Regions from separate parts of the Homo sapiens genome. Here regions 2, 3 and 4 are each linked to region 1. Evidence: promoter capture Hi-C in 16 types of primary human blood cells and fetal thymus (Javierre and others, 2016). All regions are on one chromosome and are shown on one strand. Each heading gives the region's core, a stretch centred on a gene start or on the middle of the fragment in contact. The rest is flanking DNA. Distances are from core to core; before and after follow the strand shown. Region 1 holds the start of TMEM167B (transmembrane protein 167B). Region 2 has its middle 2.4 kb from the start of GPR61. Region 3 overlaps PSMA5 (proteasome 20S subunit alpha 5). Region 4 overlaps PRPF38B (pre-mRNA processing factor 38B).

Region 1 (2,700 bases), core at 74-2,573:
AGCACGGCGGATTAGTAACCGTATAATTTAACCCTCCAGTTAGCCTTGGAGGACTCGGTGTCGCACTTCCGCCCGAACTCTAATAAAGCGGGCCGAGTTGTGTGCAATTAAGGATTTCAGTATGCAAATCTGAATCTGTACTTTTGTCTCCTCCACCCCACCCCCATCATTAGACTGGCAATGTCTTTTGTCACGTTGTCAAAGTGTCCTCAGAGAAGCGGTGTCTAGATATCGCCGATTTCTGGTTAAAGTGGCTGAAGTGATCCCAGCATTAATTAAATGCAGGAGAATCGAGATTCTCCTGATAGTTTAAGGAAAAGAAAAATTCACACAAGCAAACGGGCAACCCTTTGAATGTTTTCCGACGACGTGGTGCTTTAGGATCTGAAAGATGCGACTTGGTTTTTGTTGTTGTTGTTGTTGTTGTTGTTGTTTTTGAGACGGAGTTTCCGCTCTTGTTGCCCAGGCTGGAGTGCAATGGCGCGATCTCGGCTCACCGCAACCTCCGCCTCCCAGGTTCAAGCGATTCTCCTGCCTCGGCCTCCCGAGTAGCTGGGATTACATTACAGGCATGAGCCACCATGCCCGGCTAATTTTGTATTTGTAGTAGAGACGGGGTTTCTCCATGTTGGTCAGGCTGGTCTCGAACTACGATCTCAGGTGATCCGCCTGCCTCGGCCTCCTAAAGTGCTTAGATTACAGGCATGAGCCACCGCGCCCGGCTAATTTTGTATGTTTAGTAGAGACGGGGTTTCTCCTTGTTGGTCAGGCTGGTCTCGAACTCCGACCTCAGGTGATCCGCCTGGCTCGGCCTCCCAAAGTGCTGGGATTACAGGCGTGAACCACCGCGCCCGGCCGCGACTTGTTTTTGTTACAAGGTTCCTCATTTCATTTGCAACGTTCAGACGCAGTCTGACTAGATTTCCATCCGGAGTAAGGAAGAGCAGCTCAAGGGCAGTCACGGAGGCCGCAGGTGCGGCTTCTTCACCCGCGGTGCTGGAGTTCTCTCAAGTGGAAGCCCAGGACGATGAAAACCTCATAGGTAGGCTGCTGCTTACACACAGCAGCCGCCACGGCGCAAAATAAACTACAAAACTACAAGCCTTTACCTTTTCAAACACACTGACGCGGGCCAGCCCCAGCCCTACGCCCGCAGGGGCACGCAGAAAAGACTTAGTTACCACGGCCAAGTACGAAGCCTTCGAGATAGCGTTCTTCTTACCCTACGTAAACACGCAGTTTCCCGAGCTCGACAATCGGCTAGCCACTCCTGATAGCGTTCGGCGCTCGCCTCTCGGCCCTTGCTCCTGCGTACTACGGCTTCTTCCAGTCACCTCGGCCCGGATCGGGAAGTGTCAAGCGGGCGCTCCCCCATCTCCGCCGCTATTACCACTGAACCCGGACCCCCTACCCAGGTCCAGGGCCAGCCGCCATGACGAACGGTGAGAACTGATGCCCTGAGCGGAGGGTGGGAGTGAAGGACGAAGGGAAAACGTGGCGGGCGGGGCCGGGACTGACGTGGCCGTTCTCCCCGCCCCCTCCCAGCCCGGCCCCCCTTGGCCTCTCGACGCCCCTAACTTCTGTACCCCTATACTCCTCTACGGGTTCCCCCTTCCCATATTCATCTAGGACCCCCAGTGCCTCTTATGCTCACACCTCGAGTTATCTATCCCTATGCTTTGCTTTCCCTTTTCTTTTTCTTAGTTCTTTCTGGCCCTTGGAGAGGTCAGTCCCAGAGGTACTACTGCTATTTAAACCCGGGGAAGAGAGAGGCTCCTCCTCCCAGCTCCCTGCGTTCTCATGCTTTCGGACCGTAGTTTTGTTGAGAGGGCCAATAAATGACATAGAATATCAAGTCCCACACTTTTGGGGTTGCTGGTGAATGTAGACCCCACAAAAGCTTCTTCTTACGGAAAAATACCGGAAAGATTTCTGATTTTAAAGTCCTGGCGGGGTGATCCCACGTGGAGACCCTGACTAGTGTTGCAAAGGGTGGATTTAGACACTGCCTCTTCTAGATGATGAGGCAGTTTATCTGACCTAATTTTCCAGGCCTCTTCAAACACTTTATGAATTCTGAATTCCAGAGGAGGACAGGAAGGAGGGCCTTCATGATTTTTAGTGTCAACCTTACAGGAAAGGAGAAGAGAAAGCCTTTTAGGCATTACGATGATTTGAGGGGCTCCGGAAAGCATTTCTCAAAAGTACTTTGTCCATAGACCTGGCACTGAAGACTCGAATTTAACCTCCTTGTGAATTTTGGCATTGTCTGCAGAAACTTATGAGAGAAAAGGGGTAGCACGTGAAGGTATAGTTCCTCAGAAAACCTTAGTGTATGTATTAATTTGCTGGACCCTTTCTTAGTGACAGCTTAGCTGTGAGACAGTTTTACTGGAGGAAGAGAGGTAGTGTGATCTAGAACTGGCAGACACTGGTTATATATAATATTCATTTGGAGCTTCCTGGGAAGTCAGAGGTCTCAGGATACTAGGCACAGTAAGAAAAGGGAATTTACCCAGAGGAAGACAGAATCTGAACCAGGAAGTAAGACAGCAGTTTGACACGGTAGTTGCTGAATAAATTTTAGTCATTCTTCCCCCATTTTGTGGTCCAATATCTTCTTGTTTTTTGCAATTAGGTGATTCATTGTGCTTCCCTGTACAAGAAATAAGCTTGGTTTATGTATTTAAGAAACAGAGC
Region 2 (2,700 bases), core at 30-2,529, 450 kb after region 1:
GAAGGGCTCTCACCTCTGCTTTCCTCTGCCTCCCTCCTCAGCCCCTTGGCCTGGCTCCCAGATGCTGGGCAGGGTGAGGTGAGTGCTTGGAAAGCAGGCATGGCTGGTGCTGGTACAGGGGGGCCCCAGGAAGCCAGGAACTGAGCTGTGGTGTGGAGGTCCCAGCTGTAAGCCTGCTGTCTGGTTGGCAGGGGCGGGGGGGTTGGGTGCCCATGCGGATGGAGGTGGATGCCAAGAGGACACAATGCCAGCAGCTTGGCGGGGGAGGCCTGGCTAGGGAGTAGGCGGCTGACAGGCAGTCTATGTTGTGGGATCTCAGGGACATCCCTGGTCGATGCTGGAATCCCAACGTTCTGCTTCTTCTCTTTGTTCCCTGTTAAATTGTTAATATTCCTGGGAAAGAACACATTAAGTTGCTATCAGTGCAAATGGGTTTATCAACCTCTTTCCTGAGAGCAGATTCTGACACAAGGCAGAGAAGGAGGGTAGTGGGTGCCACTGAGCAGGCAAGGGGCTCTAGGGAGGGGGCAGTGGCAACATAAGAAGTCTTCAATGTTTATTGAAGAAGTGGATGGATGAATGAAAGATAAACTTGATTGGCTTCCAGGTCTCATCCTGGGGCAGAAAAGGGTGGATGGGCAGACACGACCCTGTCACGAGGTGCTGGTGCACAAGGGTTGGGTAAAACTGTACCAGGGAGCAAGTCTAGGATGCAAAGATCAGTCCTCAGCAGCAAGGGCCCTGCCATGATACCAAGGGAAGGGGTGCCACTGTTGGAAACAGGGCCTGGTCCCCGTCCTGTAACAGGATTCCCTTCCTGGGTGTGTGCACAGCATAGTGAGCCATGGATCTCTTATGTGGTTTGGGGGATCACACTCAGTTTCTCCATCTTGGTCTTCTTGCCCCCTCCATTGTGCTAAGCTTTACTAAAAGGAGGGACTGGCAGGTGGGGTTGGGGGTGTGCTGTCAGTAGCTACTCCACACCCTGACTGAGATCATTTAATAAGATACAGCATAAGAAGTGCCTCCCAAAGTGGGCCTTCAAGAACTAGTAGCATTATTATTATTATTATTTATTATTATTATTTTTTGAGACAGAGTCTCACTCTTATTGCCCAGGCTGGAGTGCAATGGTGCGATCTCAGATCACTGCAACCTCCACCTCCTGGGTTCAAGCGATTCTCCTGCCTCAGCCTCCTGAGTAGCTGGGATTACAGGCATGTGTCACCATGCCTAGCTAATTTTTGTATTTTTAGTAGAGACGGGGTTTCGCCATGTTGGCCAGGCTGGTCTTGAACTCCTGATCTCAAATCATCTGCCCGCCTCAGCCTCCCAAAGTGCTGGAATTACAGGCGTGAGCCACTGTGCCCAGCCAGCATGATTATTATTATTATTTATTATTTGCCCACAGGCTAGAATAAGCAGTTCCCCCGCCGACCTCCTGAGCCAAGATGGTTCCAACAGCTGGAACATGCTGCCTCTTTGGTACTGCCTTTCCCAATAGCTCTCTGGGAGGGGCTTCAGGACACGGACGCCTTGCCTGCTGGCCACCACATGAGCTGTGATTACCTGTGCTAGCTCCCTGAAGCTGGAGAGGCAGGCTATGTTTGTTTTGCAGGCTCCCTACCACTATTAGATAAGCTTGGAAGTGAAGAATTTTGCCCATTTTCACAGACAGCCAACTCACAGGCCAAGGTCTTACCACCAACCAATAGAATGGCGCCAAACTGGAACCAAGGTTTTCTGACTCCAGTCTAGCGCTCTTTCTAAAATCCTGTTCCAGTGGGCCCAGGTCTGCTCCAGTTCTTATTGAATCCCTCGGAAGGGGCCATGCCAGTCTGGGCTGGGGCCCTGCAGGAAGAATGTGGGTGCTGAGCAGGGACAGGCTTTACCTAATCCCAGACAATCTGCTTGATGCCAAATTAATCTTGCCAACACAACAGCACAGGGCTTCCTAAAAATCACTTTGCTGTCTACAGGTTTTCAATTTGGTATTTCCATTTGAATTTCTTGTACGCAGGTATGCCTAATTTTGAGGTCTGTTTTAGGCTTTCTGGAAGGCAGTGACTACTTCTATGAAGATAGCTTTTAGGGCTGTAGTCCACAGTCTTGTGTCAGGCCACTGGAGAGGCCACGGAACGAAGGGAGAAGGAGGAGGAAATACTTGGACTTCAAACAGATCTGGGTTCAAATATCAGCTCTTGCACTTATTAGCTGTGTGATTTGGGGAAAGTCACTTCTCCTCCAGCACCCGGTTCCTCACTTATAAAATAGGGCAAGTCATGGCTGCCTCATAGATTGGTGTGGGGATCAAAGAAACTGTATGTAAAGGGCCTGGCACTCATAACAGCTCAAAAAGTGGTGGCTGGTGACAGCGGCACTTGCTGCATCGGCTCTTGGTTTGTCAGTGGCCTCTTTGTTTTTGACCTGGGGCTTGGGGCAGCCAACTTGTCCCAGTGAGGTCCTTGGGTAACTCATTGTTCTTATGGCTCTTTGGGTTGGGTCTGGTAAACAATTCCAGAATTCCCTTTTTCCTTCTTAGAGGCAGAAGGAGTCCCTAGATAGGCAAGTCTCAGGGAAGCAGGCTCTGGAGTAGGGGATCATGCCTGAATTCCCTGTTTAGACTCATGGCTCTGCCATGTGGAGCTATGTGGCTTTGAGCAATCTCTTTATCTCTCTGGGTCTCAGAAACATGGATAC
Region 3 (2,700 bases), core at 37-2,536, 310 kb after region 1:
AAATGTTTCCTATCATTGCAGTTTCCAAATGTATATAAACATGTTGTTTTTTGTTGAACTACAGTATGGATTTAGTATGAATTCAGCCTATCCAAATAGTCATAATTTATTAACATATAGTACAACTTCCTACACATCAATATACCCAGAGCCCAGCAAATAATTATGGGGTCCCTGTTAGTGAATTAAATCAATTCTGCATCATCCACATATGGATTAGCCATGTTGTGGACAGTGCAAGTACTTTTCAAATCTCCAGATTTCCCTATTACTCAAGAGCTGGTGATCTGAAACAAGAAAATTTGAGCTGTTCAAGTCCCAACAGCTTAATTTTGTGTGTCCATGGGCACACAGCATTAGATTCTTCATCTGTTAAGTAGTGATACTGATACCATCTTCCCGTGGTAATTTTTGAGGCTGAGATAGAATGATTCTTTAAACAATCTCCACCAATCATATGATGGCAGCTCTAATGGGGAAAGTTCATCATTCATTCCAAAGTCTAATGTAAACTGCTTCTGAATTTTACAATTCTCTTACTGATATAGAGATTTGTAATTGATTGCCAGTGAGGCCAAGGTCATTAATTTAATTCTTAGTCCTTCACTTCGTAAACAAGGAAATCTCTTTCCAAATTGTCTATCAAGACCCAAGAACTGGTACAACACTGTTGATGGCTGATTCCAACCCATCAATGTTTTGAGGAGGACCTCAAAACATGTTCTTCTGATAGTCAATTAGTAGCATCTCCTTATAAGAAAAGCAGCAAAAATACACGTTTGCTCCAGAAATTATAGGGCCGAAATGGATTTACAGTGCTGTTAACATCTATTAACCACTGGGAAGAGCTGGACTAGTTCATTTATCAACACCATGGGATTAATGGATATAGTTGATTCTGTTATAGAGCATCACTAAAACAGTTTTAGAACAGACATCTTCATAGAATAGGGATATTAATAACACTGTCCTTTTGGCCCACTAACATTTGCATTTCAAACAAAAGACTGTATTACAATGGCTGGGCACAGTGGCTCTCGCCTATAATCCTAGCACTTCAGGAGGCAGAGGCGGGAAGATCACTTGAACCCAGGAGTTTGAAACCAGCCTGGGCAATATAGTGAGACCTCATCTCTTAAAAAAAAAAAAAAAAAAAAGACTATTAGAAGAGAACAGTCTATTAACAAATATTTTAAAATTTTCTTTATTTCAGAACTGCCTTTATGTACAGACATCATTTAAAAAATGCACATACAATGGAGATTTTCCAAGGAACAGGAGCTGGAAATAAAATTTAAGGACATTATTAGAACTGAAATTGTCCCAGAGAAGTTCTGAGGATCAGGATTCCTTAAATGTCCTTGATAACCTCTTCAAGTTCTTCCTTTGTGAACATGTGGAAATTCTGGCCAGGCTGCACTGTGGCTAGCTGGAAAGAAAACAGAAGGGTTAATAAGCTGGGCTGAGTTACCCTGCTGATGGCCCTACCATGGTCAGGAGAAGCTGTGTTGGTGATGCAGCTATTCATTAGGAACTAAGGGATCTGCTGTCCCAAGGATATCCTTTCCAGGCAGCAGGTCCCTAAAATAGCTCTCTGGCTCCAAAATAAAAATGCTTATTGACCAAATTTTCTATTTTAAGGTTAACTCACCACATCATACTTAACCAAATGCCTGGCATCATTGTCACTTCTTGAAGTCACTTCAACAGGGATCACAAAAGCAGCAGCAAAGTACATGGAGTCAGTACTTTTTTCTGTTAAAGACTCCTTTAGAAATATATTTGAAGTATATTTAAATACTTAAAAGTTGAGCTTGTGTGTGTGACTTGAGGTTACTTGGCCACTCTGTGCCTCTATTTCTTCATCTGTACAATGAGGACAATAAGAATAGCTAATTCATAGAGTAGTTGTGAGGATTAAATGTTAATATATATAAAGTGCTTAGACCATTATTGCCTACAACAAATAATCATTAACTATTGTCAGGTATTTTCTCTAAAATTGTTTATGTGGCAAAACTTAACAAAAAAGTTTTTTTTGTTTGTTTTTGGTTTTGTTTTGAGATGGAGTTTCGCTCTTGTTGTTCAGGCTGGAGTGCAATGGCGTGATCTAGGCTCACCGCAACCTCCGCCTCCCGGGTTCAAGCGATTCTCCTGCCTCAGCCTCTCGAGTAGCTGGGATTACAGACATGCGCCACCACACCCGGCTAATTTTGTATTTTTAGTAGAGACGGCGATTCTCCATGTTGGTCAGGCTGGTCTCGAACTCCCAACCTCAGGTGATCTGCCCACCTCAGCTTCCCAAAGTGCTAGGATTACAGATGTGAGCTACTGCACCTGGCCTGTTACGTTTTTTTAAAAGAACTGGCCAAGAAAAGATTTCATTAACACTGGCATAGGAAACCAGTTGTGACTGCTGAAGATATCAGTAATAACTGGAAATCCAGATTATATTTACATTTAAAAGCAACAACAACAATAAAAAACTAGGGTCAGAAGATGGTTAATTTCAAATTTAACTATCATGACTAGGTTTTCCATTCTCTCTGTTGATCATGTCCCACAGTTTTGGGCAATACTGAGCAATAGGTGCCACTTCACATTTGCCTCAAAAGATTTGTGTTTTACATGTCATTTCCTCATAGTGTCTTTTTTCTTCAATTTTTAAAATTAAACACATGGCTGGAAACAGTAGCTCAT
Region 4 (2,700 bases), core at 32-2,531, 390 kb before region 1:
AATTCCAGTTCCAGTTCAAAAGAATATTGATCAACAGATTAAAACCCGACCTAGAAAAATCAAGAAAGATGGGAAGGAAGGTGCTGAGGAAATAGACAGACATGTTGAACGCAGACGTTCAAGGTAATGTCACTCTTGAATTATGCTTATTTTTCATATATGCTTTATACAAAATTAATGGTTCTGAGAAATAGCAAGTTCTTAGGAATTTGTTTTTACTGTTCATTTTATTAGTTTGTCACTTTTACCCCCCAAAGATTATTTTCTTCCTTTCAGGGCTTTTTCTATAAAATTATGCATCTGTAAATGAGAACAATAAAATTTTTTGCTTTAATGATTCTTGACATGGCCTTAAGCTTGAGGACATGAATAAATAATGCTGTTGAAAGTTTTACTGTGAAAAGAATTGCATATGTTTTATTCATTGAAATTTTCTTTCTCCCTCCGCCTTCCTTAGGTCTCCAAGGAGATCTCTGAGTCCACGGAGGTCCCCAAGAAGGTCAAGAAGTAGAAGTCATCATCGGGAGGGCCATGGGTCTTCTAGTTTTGACAGAGAATTAGAAAGAGAGAAAGAACGCCAGCGACTAGAGCGTGAAGCCAAAGAAAGGGAGAAAGAACGGCGAAGATCCCGAAGTATTGACCGGGGGTTAGAACGCAGGCGCAGCAGAAGTAGGGAAAGGCATAGAAGTCGCAGTCGAAGTCGTGATAGGAAAGGGGATAGAAGGGACAGGGATCGAGAAAGAGAGAAAGAAAATGAGAGAGGTAGAAGACGAGATCGTGACTATGATAAGGAAAGAGGAAATGAACGAGAAAAAGAGAGAGAGCGATCAAGAGAAAGGTCCAAGGAACAGAGAAGTAGGGGAGAGGTAGAAGAGAAGAAACATAAAGAAGACAAAGATGATAGGCGGCACAGAGATGACAAAAGAGATTCCAAGAAAGAGAAAAAACACAGTAGAAGCAGAAGCAGAGAAAGGAAACACAGAAGTAGGAGTCGAAGTAGAAATGCAGGGAAACGAAGTAGAAGTAGAAGCAAAGAGAAATCAAGTAAACATAAAAATGAAAGTAAAGAAAAATCAAATAAACGAAGTCGAAGTGGCAGTCAAGGAAGAACTGACAGTGTTGAAAAATCAAAAAAACGGGAACATAGTCCCAGCAAAGAAAAATCTAGAAAGCGTAGTAGAAGCAAAGAACGTTCCCACAAACGAGATCACAGTGATAGTAAGGACCAGTCAGACAAACATGATCGTCGAAGGAGCCAAAGTATAGAACAAGAGAGCCAAGAAAAACAGCATAAAAACAAAGATGAGACTGTGTGAAAATATTTTGTAAAAGTGGATCACATTGAATCCTATAAATGATTAAATCTGCTTTTTTCCCCCACGTTGAGATTGTGCAGTAGTTCGCACTCCTCAAGCTCTCCCTGTAGGCTGCATTTTCATTTCCTCTTTCGTGTAGGGAAGTGCCTTTGTAATTCCATTTATTGCATTGGTGTTTTCACCCAATTGTTAAGTTTGATACATGATGCACAGATTGTTCTTGCATTTTTATTGTTTGTTTTTGAAATGTACAGTCTGTACATATGTCCTGAAAATGTTTTAATTCCTTTGGCATGGTTGCCATGTTGGTTAAATTTGTATAAGGCAATAAACTGCCACTAATCTATTTTTGTTTTGTAGGTGTGGGATTATGGTTTGTGTACTGAAGTTAGCATGGCTGTGCTTTTCGTAATAGAATGCTAAAGACTTTGAGAATGGATCTTGGATGTCTATTATAGGAGAAGTATGTGCTGCCAATGTACAAGAAGGCAGCATTGTAGGATTAACATTCTTGTCTACTGTATATTATCTTGGAAGGCTCTTGTTAATATGTTACACTTAATATTCTCCACAGTTACCTTTAGAGAGAATTTATGAGAAGTTAGTTTCTGATGCAGAGGTTTTTAGGCTGTGATTTCATCAAAAGTCCTTTTAGCATTCTACCTCAAAGGGACACTTAGTATGCCTAAAATTTATTCACTTAGTTTTCCTTTTTTATTTGAAAAAATACATGACATGTAATCTTTTTTTCTTGAATTCTTTCTCAGATTTTAAAGTACTATATTAAAGAAAAAAATTAATGTCTAAAGCCTAGCATTCTTGCAGAACCCTATACTAACATGTAATGGGGAGAGGGTGGGGCAGATGAGTAGAGAAACAGATTCAAGCCTCAAGCTTCCAAAGCATTTTTATAAATGGAAAATCCTTAAATTATGAAACAGCTTGATATAGTGTCCTTTTTTTAAAATTCAGAACTTTTTTTATTGATAATGGAGATTGCTGTTTGAGTTTTTAAACTTAATCTAGAACAGAGGAGTATTAAAAGTAATGCTGTGCTGCATTATTTAAGACTATCAGCAAATTATTTGATAGATTGTTCTTACAACTTGTATTCTGATTACAGAACCATCATGAGTGTGGAATAAATACTGGATTAAATCCTTTATCCTGGGTCTTGGCTTTTCCCCCATTTGTTAAATTTTTTTAGCATATTTATATTGTGGAAATTGATGAAACGTCAGTAGAGTCACACTTTGTGTACAGGGATGTCTTAGTGCCCAGATGACAAGTGAATTTTGGAGAAATGCATAGACTGGGATTGGGCATGTGGTAATCAATAATCTTTATTAGAATACTTGATAATGGCAGTTCCCTTTGTCAGTGG

The links. Contacts are between HindIII fragments. The CHiCAGO score rates a contact against its expected background, and 5 or more counts as called.
Region 2: a contact is called between a fragment that was not itself captured here and the fragment with the promoter of TMEM167B in region 1, in 1 of 17 cell types (endothelial precursors). The highest score is 5.5, in endothelial precursors.
Region 3: a contact is called between a fragment that was not itself captured here and the fragment with the promoter of TMEM167B in region 1, in 2 of 17 cell types (endothelial precursors and megakaryocytes). The highest score is 6.2, in endothelial precursors.
Region 4: a contact is called between a fragment that was not itself captured here and the fragment with the promoter of TMEM167B in region 1, in 2 of 17 cell types (naive CD8 T cells and non-activated CD4 T cells). The highest score is 6.1, in naive CD8 T cells.

What each region holds. Positions count from the first base shown.
Region 1 is chr1:109,089,441-109,092,140 of GRCh38, forward strand. It overlaps TMEM167B (transmembrane protein 167B), which reads left to right and starts at 1,324. Exons shown (of 3, transcript NM_020141.4): 1 at 1,324-1,442. The coding sequence starts at 1,433. RefSeq lists an enhancer at 958-1,157. The HindIII fragment of the contact is 3,338 bases long and covers 1-1,898 here.
Region 2 is chr1:109,536,171-109,538,870 of GRCh38, forward strand. No RefSeq gene overlaps it. Among named protein-coding and RNA genes, the nearest start is that of GPR61, 2.4 kb to the right of the region's middle. The HindIII fragment of the contact is 720 bases long and covers 920-1,639 here.
Region 3 is chr1:109,400,662-109,403,361 of GRCh38, forward strand. It overlaps PSMA5 (proteasome 20S subunit alpha 5), which reads right to left. Exons shown (of 9, transcript NM_002790.4): 9 at 1-1,429. The coding sequence ends at 1,352. Among named protein-coding and RNA genes, the nearest start is that of SORT1, 4.1 kb to the left of the region's middle. The HindIII fragment of the contact is 3,839 bases long and covers 1-2,700 here.
Region 4 is chr1:108,698,705-108,701,404 of GRCh38, forward strand. PRPF38B (pre-mRNA processing factor 38B) reads left to right here. Exons shown (of 6, transcript NM_018061.4): 5 at 1-123; 6 at 458-2,700. The coding sequence ends at 1,316. Among named protein-coding and RNA genes, the nearest start is that of PRPF38B, 7.7 kb to the left of the region's middle. The HindIII fragment of the contact is 1,854 bases long and covers 355-2,208 here.